Linked DNA regions of Homo sapiens: region 1 is linked to region 2. The links are contacts of gene promoters, found by promoter capture Hi-C in human tissues and cell types (Jung and others, 2019). All regions are on one chromosome and are shown on one strand. Each heading gives the region's core, a stretch centred on a gene start or on the middle of the fragment in contact. The rest is flanking DNA. Distances are from core to core; before and after follow the strand shown.

Region 1 (5,155 bases), core at 1,625-4,124, 460 kb after region 2:
CTGATACAGCAATGCTGGGCTCCGATACAGAATGTGGGATGGACTCACGACGGAAGGGGCCAACTGGCTTACTGCGGCACACAGGCATGAAGGACTGAGGGCCTCAGCTGGGGAAGGGAGGCTGGCAAGGGTAAGAAGAGCTGTAACTCAGGAGACTCAAAAGCCGCTTCCAGCCTTACCCACAAGATGGCCTAGTCATCCCCATGACACCAGGGCTCAGTTCCCACGATGACTATCTGATGCACTGGAGCATAAGTAATGAATACTCTCTGTCCATGCCACCCCCACACATGCCTCCGCGTGTCTGTGGGGTAGCAAAAGGGGAAATGCATCGTGTTCTATTTATAAGACCCAGCTGAGCCACAAAGGCTAACGACAGGGGCACTGTAGTATCAGCTGAAGCTCTCCAAACAGGTGCCAAGTTTGGTTTGAATTTATATTTCACATTTCTCAGGCTGAAACCGTTCCTCTCTGTCATTCCAACTGCTCTCCTTGGAGCTCACCCGACATGGCCTCGCCCACAGCAACAGTCTGGTTGGAGAGTTGAGAGAACTCAAGTCCCTCTCCAGACTTCCAATAAATTATCTGGGGCAAGAGAAGGAGGATGAGGTTTGGATGATCGCGGAAACAAACCCTGAGAGCCCAAAGCAGGAGTGAAACAGCACAGCCCTTACATGTTCTCTGCAGAATTCCGTTGGCAGGGAGGGGTTATTCGGGGCCACGTGCTTGCTCCGCAGCGGCCCTGGCACATTCCATGCACTGACCACAATCAAAGAGAAAGAAAAGGCATGCTTACTGTTATTTTTAATTCCTTCCTCAAGGCCTTCCAAAATTCTTCAGCAGGATTATCCACTAAACTTTCACCACTCCCAGCCAATAGTCCCTTTGAAGCCCAGAGCTAAAGTAAAGTGGAGAGCAGGAAAAGTCAGGTCCCAGAAGTCTCTGCTCTTGGCCATTAAATATCATCCAAGTTGCACTGGGCCTAGTGGCATCTCCCGGACTTCAAAGGGACAGGGCCTGATGATGGTGCCGACATAGTAGAGCCACGTGAATGCCCTGCCACTGCCACCCCCACCTGCTCCATACACACCTGACCTTGACCTCCACCTCCTTTCCCTTCAGTAGTAGACATCAGCATAGCCAAATGTTCCCTAACTCATACTCCAGTTAATTAAGCTCTAGTGCTAACTTTACCATGTTTTCAACATCTCGTCCAGTTTTAAAATATTACATTGCCAACTTGTTGCATGACCTTGGGCAAGTCCTTTCACTTAGAATAGCAGGACATAATTTGCACATTCCCTTCCACTTAAGCAACAGCACATGAGCTGGCGGATCCAATTCTCCATTACCTTGGTCAGGTATCAAGACCAGAGGCAGGGTGACTATTACCCAGGTTTGCCTGGACGGTCCTGATTTATGGCCAAGGACCGTAATTAATAGTGGCCATAATTAATAATGCTGCCCCTTTTCACTCTTGGAAACATCCTGGTTTGTTTGATAAATTATGTAGTCACCCTAGATTCTAGAAGGTGTAGAGCTTCAGTGGCAAATCCAGCTCCAGCCCTTAGCCTGAGACTTAAAGCAACTTACCTAAGTAATCTGAACCTTGTTTCTGTCATTTACCAAATGAGAATAATGATAGCAGTGTCATAGCTTTTTGTATGAGGACAACAATGGCCATCCTTTCTTGAGGGGCTATGGGGTAGAGCTCAGAGAACTAGGAACCAGAGACCAGAGTTAAGATTCCTGTTCTGCCACTGACCCCTCAATGCTTCAGCCTCCTCCTCTGTAAACATAAATACATAAGTACCCAGAGTACTGTAGGTAAGTAAATAAGATCAAGGAGATCACCCCCTCTGGCATACACTCAGCATGCAGTTGACACTCAGTCCATGCAACACGTACCAGGATCACCCCATGTGAGTGGGCTTAGGTGATTTGCTAACAGTCAACACTGCTGACTCGACCATCTTCTGAGTCAAATGCTTGGACATGGCCAAGAGTAACAGCTCACCTAAGCTTCTAGTACAAGGCACCAGAGCCTATGTGCCCCGAGCTCATATTCCAATATAATTTTGTGCAATATTTATGATTGTCTCTAAGGTCTCTGTGGAAATCTGGGTGTGAACTTAGAAGCCTTAACTCCCATCTCTGTCAGAAAGGGTTTTTAGCAGTATTAGTGAGTTCTACACCATAAAGAAATAATATGCGGGGGGCGAGGTGCGGTGGCTTACACCTGCAATCCCAGCAATTTGGGAGGCTGACGCGGGCAGATCACCTGAGGTCGGGAGTTCGAGACCAGCCTGACCAACATAGAAAAACCCCGTCTTTACTAAAAATACAAAATTAGCCAGGCATGGTGGTGCATGCCTGTAATCCCAGCTACTCGGGAGGCTGAGGCAGGAGAATAGCCTGAATCCGGGAAGCAGAGGTTGCCGTGAGCCAAGATCACGCCTTTGCACTCCAGCCTGGGCAACAAGAGCGAAACTCCGTCTCAAAAAAAAAAAATAATAATATGTGACATTGCAAAACATTTCACAGCTTGCAAGAAGCTTTTAATCTAAAATAAATCTAATCTGATTTAAGTAAATAACTTCAATAACATCCCTCCTTGAGGGAGGTCATTGTTTTTCCCATTTTACTGATGAGGAAAAGGAAGCTCAAATAAGTTAAACAACATGTCCACAGTCACCACCGCAGTAAGTTGGGGAGCAGGGATTTGAACCCAGGGCACTCCGCAGCAATAGGCTGCCCCTGGTCTTGCCTTCAGTTAAGAGGTTTCTAGCAATGTTTTCAAAAACAGCCCATGAAGTAGAATCAGTCCTTGGACATGAAACTCAATCTTTTAAAAACCCAGCAACTTAAACCACCACCACCACCACCAAGCTGACCCTCTAAAGGCGAGGTAAATAATAACCAATCTCTCAATGATAAAAGGAATGAAGAATACTGATTTAAACATGCTGTTTTAGTCTCTCATTAAGGAATATAATCTGTTTTCAATAAACATACATCCTGCTATGGGTCTGCAGTACTGAATTTAGGTAGTTTCCACTGATTGCAGTGTGGTCTGGAATTGGAAAGCCTGGCCTTGATTGATGATCATCAACAAAGAAATTGAAAACACTGACCAGAGACGGTCCATATGAAGGCACTGTGTCAGGCACAGGGAAGACCCAGCAGAGGCCGAGATCTAATTTGGGGGCCTGTGCTTGGGTAGACCAGGCATCTGCATGGAGGCCAGCAACACCCCACTTAGTTTCCCAAGGTATCCATATCAAAAGCCTGACATGACTCACTGGCTAATTACCTGAACGCCTGGGGTCCCTGAGCCCTCCTGGCTGAACAACATGTCTTCTCTCCTGACAGTGAACAAAACACTATCTTCAACCTGCTCCAGACATAGCCTAAAGCTGTCCACATGGTACTGTAAGGGATTATGACTCTGACCTGGATAACTCGGGCAGAAAACCTGCTGTTAACAGCCACTGGGTAAGAGGAGGAAATGAAACAAGAAACGATAGAGTGGTGGCTTTCACCGTGCCACTCCCCTGCTTTAAAATCTCCTGGACACTTACAGAGCAAGGTCCAAACACAAAGTACGAAGTTTGGCAAGCCAAAGCCCTTGACAACATCCTTCTCCAACTCCTCTCTGGCCACTCCCTCATCCACACTCTGGCCACCCTAAACTGTCTTGCCTTCCCTAGATGTCAGGCCCTTCCGCAGTCTGGTCTGTGCTCTGTGCTGCCTCCCACTCCACTCCTACACTCCTATCCATCCTTCAAGGCCCCAATTGAGTATTGCCTCCTCTGTGAAGCCTTCTGATACCTCCAGAAATAGACCTGTTCTTCCTCTAGGCTCCCAAATATTTTGTTTGACCTTCACTATAGTGTCTCTTCCACAGGCCCACCATAACTGTGGTTACTGGTGTCCCTTTTTTGCCTCTGAGCAGTTCAGAGACACAACTTCATCTCTATATCTCTGGTACTTAATAAAGATTTCCAGCAAACAAAGGCACATTCAGTGGTCCAGCTCTCTGCTCCACTTTTTGAATGAGCAGCTATAATATGTAGCACCTTCTCCCTCATCTGCATTAAATTCACTCTGGCCTGGGTTGAGGGTGAGGGAAATCAATTCCTGTGAACATCTCCAAAATGCTACCCATATAATGGTGCCACCTGGACTGGGATTCAGTTGTGGCCACGCAACTGAGCGGATGCTACAAAAATAAATACATACATACATACATACGTACATACATACATACATACAGAAATGCCTGCCCTAAGAGCAAAAATACAGAGGAAGGCCTACACACCATATGTAGTATTTAAAGACAAATCAAGGTAACAAACGGTTACACAGAATGCGTTCTATCATCCTGCCTTGACCAATACTTTAATAAGTCCAGGTTTGAGTTTAGGATTCCCTGACCTCTTGGTTTCACAATGGAATGTGGAAGCTCAGAGAGACCCAGCCCAAGATCTCAGCCCACCCCTAGCACCACCCATAACTTTCAGAGGCCTTGTGCACACCCAAGTAGAGTCCCCAGGCCACAAGTCCAAGCTCTAGCCAATTCCTTCATGCCCCTGCACCCCTTGCCCAGCCATTGGTCCCACAGGTACACATGCTGTCCATGGCCAACACAGTCTGCCCTCAAGTAAAACAGACCTGGGGAAGAGGCCCACGCAGGACTTGGAAACAGGCTCAAGACACTGATGCAGGGAACTGGAAGGGTCAGGCCTCTGAGCATGATCTGGAAAAAGGAAGTGCTTGCTCTAGATGGGCCTGTCCCTTGGCCCTACAGTCTCCTTGCCCCAGTAAGAGGAGCACAGCCAGGTGGAGGGCCAAAGCATGACTCTTGAAGCGTGAGCTCCCTCTTGCACGTATCTGAGGGCAGTCAAGGGTATAGCCACCACGTCTGGGTCATTTCAGAGCCATGAGTTTCTGGACCTGACCATTCTCACTCAACAGCCCACCTAACCAGTAAGCTAGTACTTGAGGGGGAGCCGGAAGTGCATTCCAACTTGGGCCTCAAAAAAACACCAGCAACAATAAACATCATGCACTTCCATGCACTTACGGGCAGCTATCAGTGACAGGCGCGTGAGTCACTGCGTTTCTGCTTCAGGATCTTACCCATCCCCCGCCC
Region 2 (5,207 bases), core at 2,257-4,756:
GCCTTTTCTTGATGAAGAGATGAAGTAAACCTGGAGAACAGATCACAGGAGTCTGCCATGATCTGGGCTTGAACATTTGCTAAAATGGAGCACTAGGAGATAGCACTGAACACCCACTGCCACAGGTCCTTCGTCAGGCCTTTCTGACAAAACATGCTCCACCTGGGCTTACCTAGCCAAAAGTGTGCAGACACCTGGCATGCTGAGCTCTAGTGGTGGGGCCACTCGTGTTTCCTGTTAAGCCAGTCAGCCTTGAGCCAGGTACAACTTAGAGATGCTCAAGAAACAGAAGACCCAAGTCCAATCCCTTATAATAACAATCCCATCAATAATAACAACACTAATGGAGCGCTTACTATGTGCTAAGTTGTTCTGAGTGCTTTACATGTATCAACTCAAGGAGTCCTCAGAACTCTAGGAGGTAGGCATTACTTTCACCCCTCCCCAACTTTTTTTTCACAAATAAAGAAACTGAGATACAGAAGATACTTGCCCCAGTAGTACAACTTGCAAGTTAAACAACCTGGCTCCAGAGTTTGTGGTCTTAAACACTGGGCTATTCTTGAAATAATCACATAACCAAATAATATAATCACATAATAATCAACCTTCCATTGTTTTAAATGAGTAAGAGAAAACCCATCTTTCTCATCACAGTCACAATCTCACATAATCTTTCCAAGTCTTTGAGGAAGGTACAAGTTTCCCTGTTTTACAAATAAGGAAACTAAGGCTCAGAGAGGTAGACTGACTTGCCTAGTCAGTGGGACAGCTTGCAATTAAACCCAAATTCCTTGACTCTAAACCTAGTGTTCTGTCCACAGAACCATAATTGCATGCATCCTCTTTTAAGCTCCCTTCTTAAACAAGTATTTTGGGGTCCTATGAAGAAACAAAAACAAACATATCTATCTCCTCCAGAAGTTTACCATCTAGTGGAGGAGACAAAGAATCATGATCAAACATGTGCTTTGCTGGGGGACCCACACAAAGCTGTGACGACACAGAGGTGGGGCACATAACCAAGAATGACACAGAGAAAAAGCACAACTTGGCTTGGAAGGACAGGTGGGAATTGACCGGTGAAGAGCAGAGTGCAGACAGCCTGGACACCTGGGAGAAATGAAAATCAACCTATGTAAGTGAGGCACAGAAGTTTATGGGGCCGTGAAGAGAGATGACACAGGTGCCAGGCAGACAGGGGCCAATCCAGATGTGCCCAGAGGACCACATGAAGGAGCCTGGGCCTTATCATGAGGGGAAATCTGTATGTGCATGACTGTGTGGAGAACTCCGGATACAAAGAGAAGGATGGCATTTGATGCACAATATGGAAAGCTCCTGGTCAAGGCACCCAAAAATCTGCATGGCCTGGGCAGTCAGTAACATCTAGAACTCAAAATGAAGTTATAGAAATCAAATTTTGATTAAGTTACCCAAGACAATGAAAAATCACATCACAAATCTTCCTCTTCCCAAGATCCTGCCACCTTGCCCACTCTTAACTTGCAGGTAGTGATGTGCTTTTCGGAATGTCCGCTTCTGTCTTCCATGCCTCAGTTATTCTGCATGTAGAATGGGCACAAGGCACCCTGTCTATCTCAAATGAATACCAGAAAGATTAGAAGCGGCTGCAACATGTAGGGAAAGAAACCTACTAAGTCAATGAAACAAAATTTTAGTTCTGGTACTGACTCTCCCACTCAGGAGCTCACAGCTTTGGAAAAGCCATTTCACCTCACTGCTCCTCAGTAACTATCTGCAAAAAAGAAACATCAGCTGAACAGGCCACCTACAGTGTTACACTCTGCTCTAAAATTCCATCATTTTATTTGAAATATATTCTGAAAAATCTGAATGTAAAATATCACCAATTCTAAGATGCACATTTTCCCTTACTTTTACCGTCTCTGAAACTGGACTCATTTTAATAACGGATGATGTGTCATACTGTCATGGTTAGCATTTTTTTCTAAGTAAAATGTCTTACATTCAATGATGCTTTAAGTTTGCTCAGGCTGGGCACAGTAACTCACACCTGTAATCTCAGCACTTTGGGAAGGCCGAGGCAAGCAAATCGCAGGAGTTCAAGACCAGCCTGGGCAACATGGCAATACCTCGTCTCTACAAGATACAAAAATTATCCAGGTGTGATGGCATGTGCCAGCTACTTGGGAGGCTGAGGTAGGAGAATCGCTTGAGCCCAGGAGGCAGAGGCTGCAGTGAGCCGAGATCGTGCCACAGCACTGCAGCCTGAGCGACAGAGTGAGGCCCTGTCTCAAAATAAATTAATGAAACAGTGTGCTCAAACATGGTAAGTTAAAGTTGTCCTTTTTCCCTTTCTCAGCTGGTCACCAAGTTCAGAGAACTCAGTAGAAAAACAAGGCTGGAATCTGTCCAAGGACATTCCCCGAAACACTTGGGGGGAAAAAACCTCTCTTCTAGATTCAGCAGTTTGCATTTGCGTGGTTGTGTCTATATGTGTGTCCCAGCCCGGGCCATGAGCTCTCTGAGGGCAGGGGTTCAGTCAGATTGATCTATCTCCCCAGGGTCCTAGACATTTGCCAGGTTTTAGTGGTTGCAATTTATCAATGCTGTGCCTGAAGCAATAAAACTGCCTCCACAGGAAGCCAGCAGTAGCCATTGCCACTGGCTCAGGTCACCAGTGGTCAAGGTGCTGACTACTCAAGTCCCTGAGTCCCCCTTGCTGGCATCCGGACACTGAGATTACCACTCACCAGCACATCCCTGAAGAGTAACTGCGGCCCGGAGTGCACTGTCCAGTCCACCGCGCCACTATTTGGGATCTTGATGCGAATTACCAGCACCTGGTTCTCCATGGCAGGAAAGGGGCCAAGGGCTAGCCACAGCATTACAGGTTAAAGAGGCTCACATCCTGGGGTATGGGAAACCCACTGGCCGCTGGTTAGGAGGGGGCTCCAAGAGGTGACAAGGGGAGTGACGGGCAGAGGACAGAGGGTGAAAACAAGGGAATGGAGGATGAGGGGGAGGGAAGAGGGGAGGGGTGATCAGGAACGCACCCGCAGGCACCGAGCCTGCCCAGGCTGTCGGGGGTCTGAGGTGTCTCCCGGGGAGGGTGCACCGGGAAGCGGGCAAAGGCCCGCAGGAACTAGCGGAGGTCGGAAGGTTCTGGAGTTGAGCGAACGCTATGGTGAAGGTCTCTGCCGCCGTGTGGGTATGAGGAGGCAGCAGGGCAAGGACTCGGTTTGGGGGAGATACAGCGGCAGGTGTCCACCGCTCGTCAGTGGACTAGGAGAGGGTCCTCGACTGGAGGGGACTCAGTCCGGGGCTATTAAGAAAGAGCCCCAGGGCCGCCACACCACGGAGAGTCCCCGCGGGAGGTTCAAGGGGCGAGTCTTCTGCCCCACCCGGAGACACAGGGCGCGGCGCGCGCAGGCTGAGCTCCGGCCACCCGAGGCCGCGCGGACTGGCGGCGGCTGCGGCGGCGGCGACGGCGGTAGCGGCGAGAGGAGGAGGAGGAAGGCGGCGGCGACACTGTTACTCCGGAACCAAAACGCGCGGCGCCGGAACCCCGGGAGCCGACGAGCGGGACCCGCCTCCCGCGGCGCCATGTTGGAAAAGGGCAGCAGCTCCCGGGAGGATGCGCCCCCGGCGTGGGAAGCCGAGGAACCGGCGCGCGGCGCGCGGCGCGTGGCGCGTGGCGAGTCGGGGAGAGACTGGTCTTGCTCGCTCAGGAGACCCTCATCGCCCACAGAGCGCCCGCGGCGACCCGGTCACGGCCCTTCCATTTCCTGACCCTGCTTAATGACAGCGAGGTGAAAACATCTACCAAACGAAGGGTAAAAGGCTGGAGTCCGCCAAAAGCCAATTTAAGGCTTAACATTGCAGACCGTTTGTCTTTACAAAAGCTTCAAAGACGGGGCTGCAGCTCCCGGTTATCCCCACTTTGTCAAGCCATGAATCTGAATGTTCGTGGGGTTGTGTGCATCGAATCAGCAAGAGCAAGGCAAGAATTCAAGAAATAGTTCTTTTTTATCCCCCCTTCCAAGTCACAGGTTCAGAGGATCATCATCTTTCTCCCACATTAGCAAAACATATTTGCATTTTTCAGTGAAGTTCTTTACCGCACGAGTGCCCTAAAATAGCAAACAGTTCCCTGTTCAAAAGCAATAGTAAAGAAATTCGCCGAAGAGTTTAATTGCCTGGGGACAGCTGCAGTAGTCGCATCATCGTCTCTTATTAAACTGTTGCAGAAATATTCGGTCTAGTCCATGTATTTTCAACTAAATAGCACTGCTTACGCAGTTGGTGATATGGTGATATCACGGAAGTAGCAATAAACCTTGGTTATCTTTTTTTTTTTTTTTTTTGAGACGGAGTCTCGCTCCGTCGCCCAGGCTGGAGTGCAACGGCGCGACCTCTACTCACCACAACCTCAGCCTCCCGGATTCAAGCGATTCTCCTGCCTCAGCACTACCACCCCCACCAGCCCCCAACCCCTGCCGAGTAACTGGGACTACAGGCGTGCGCCATCCGTGCCCGCTCATTTTTGTATTTTCAGTAGAGACTGGGTTTCACTATGTTGGCCAGGCTGGTCTCAAACTCCTGACCTCGTGATCCGCCCACCTCAGCCTCCCAAAGTGCTGGGGGGATTACAGGTGTGAGCCACCGCGCCCGGCCAACCTTGGTTATCTTCAAATGCCTTGTTACCTCAGATTTTAAAGTGCATAAGGTTGTAGAACGATGGTGCCTCTACAGAAGTTTCTTTACAAATTGTAATGTGTAGGTTCGTCCTTTATTTCTTTCTTATGAAGGTGCACGAATTGGCTTTACTTTCTGGGGTTGAATTTTGTATAAACTCGGTTGAGGAGGCTTGTCAGTTTCCCTTCTAACAGTAAGGTGCTTGATTAATGTGAGAGAAAAAAATTAATGTTGGTCATTTTCAGTTACAATACCAAAATTTTTTCTGCATACTTTACTCTGAGTTACTTTTATATTTAATTTGAAAGGCCATTGTAGGAGATAAATTATCACATTTTAAGTTACTGTAAATCAATAGCTTAGGTAGAAATTCATTTAGTCAGATCCTTCAGATATTCTAGGAATTTCCCCTTTTCACCTGCACTTCACTTCTGTGAAAAATAAACCGTTCATCAAAAGTCCTCATGTACTTTTATTAAAAGTTCATTTCCTATTATTTTAGAAAATAGACCACGAAACTAGAG

The links. Contacts are between HindIII fragments. The study calls those that stand out against the background at their distance.
Region 1: a fragment that was not itself captured here is called in contact with the fragment with the promoter of MAP2K5 in region 2 in 1 of the 25 tissues and cell types used here (dorsolateral prefrontal cortex).

Annotation. Positions count from the first base shown.
Region 1 is chr15:67,076,340-67,081,494 of GRCh38, reverse strand. All of the region lies in intron 1 of SMAD3 (SMAD family member 3), which reads right to left. Among named protein-coding and RNA genes, the nearest start is that of SMAD3, 13 kb to the right of the region's middle. The HindIII fragment of the contact is 3,879 bases long and covers 935-4,813 here.
Region 2 is chr15:67,541,002-67,546,208 of GRCh38, reverse strand. MAP2K5 (mitogen-activated protein kinase kinase 5) reads right to left here and starts at 3,506. Exons shown (of 22, transcript NM_145160.3): 1 at 2,739-3,506. The coding sequence starts at 2,873. It overlaps MAP2K5-DT (MAP2K5 divergent transcript), which reads left to right and starts at 3,579. Exons shown (of 1, transcript NR_186334.1): 1 at 3,579-5,141. RefSeq lists a silencer at 3,371-3,490 and enhancers at 4,364-4,413, 4,066-4,566. The HindIII fragment of the contact is 7,088 bases long and covers 1-4,598 here.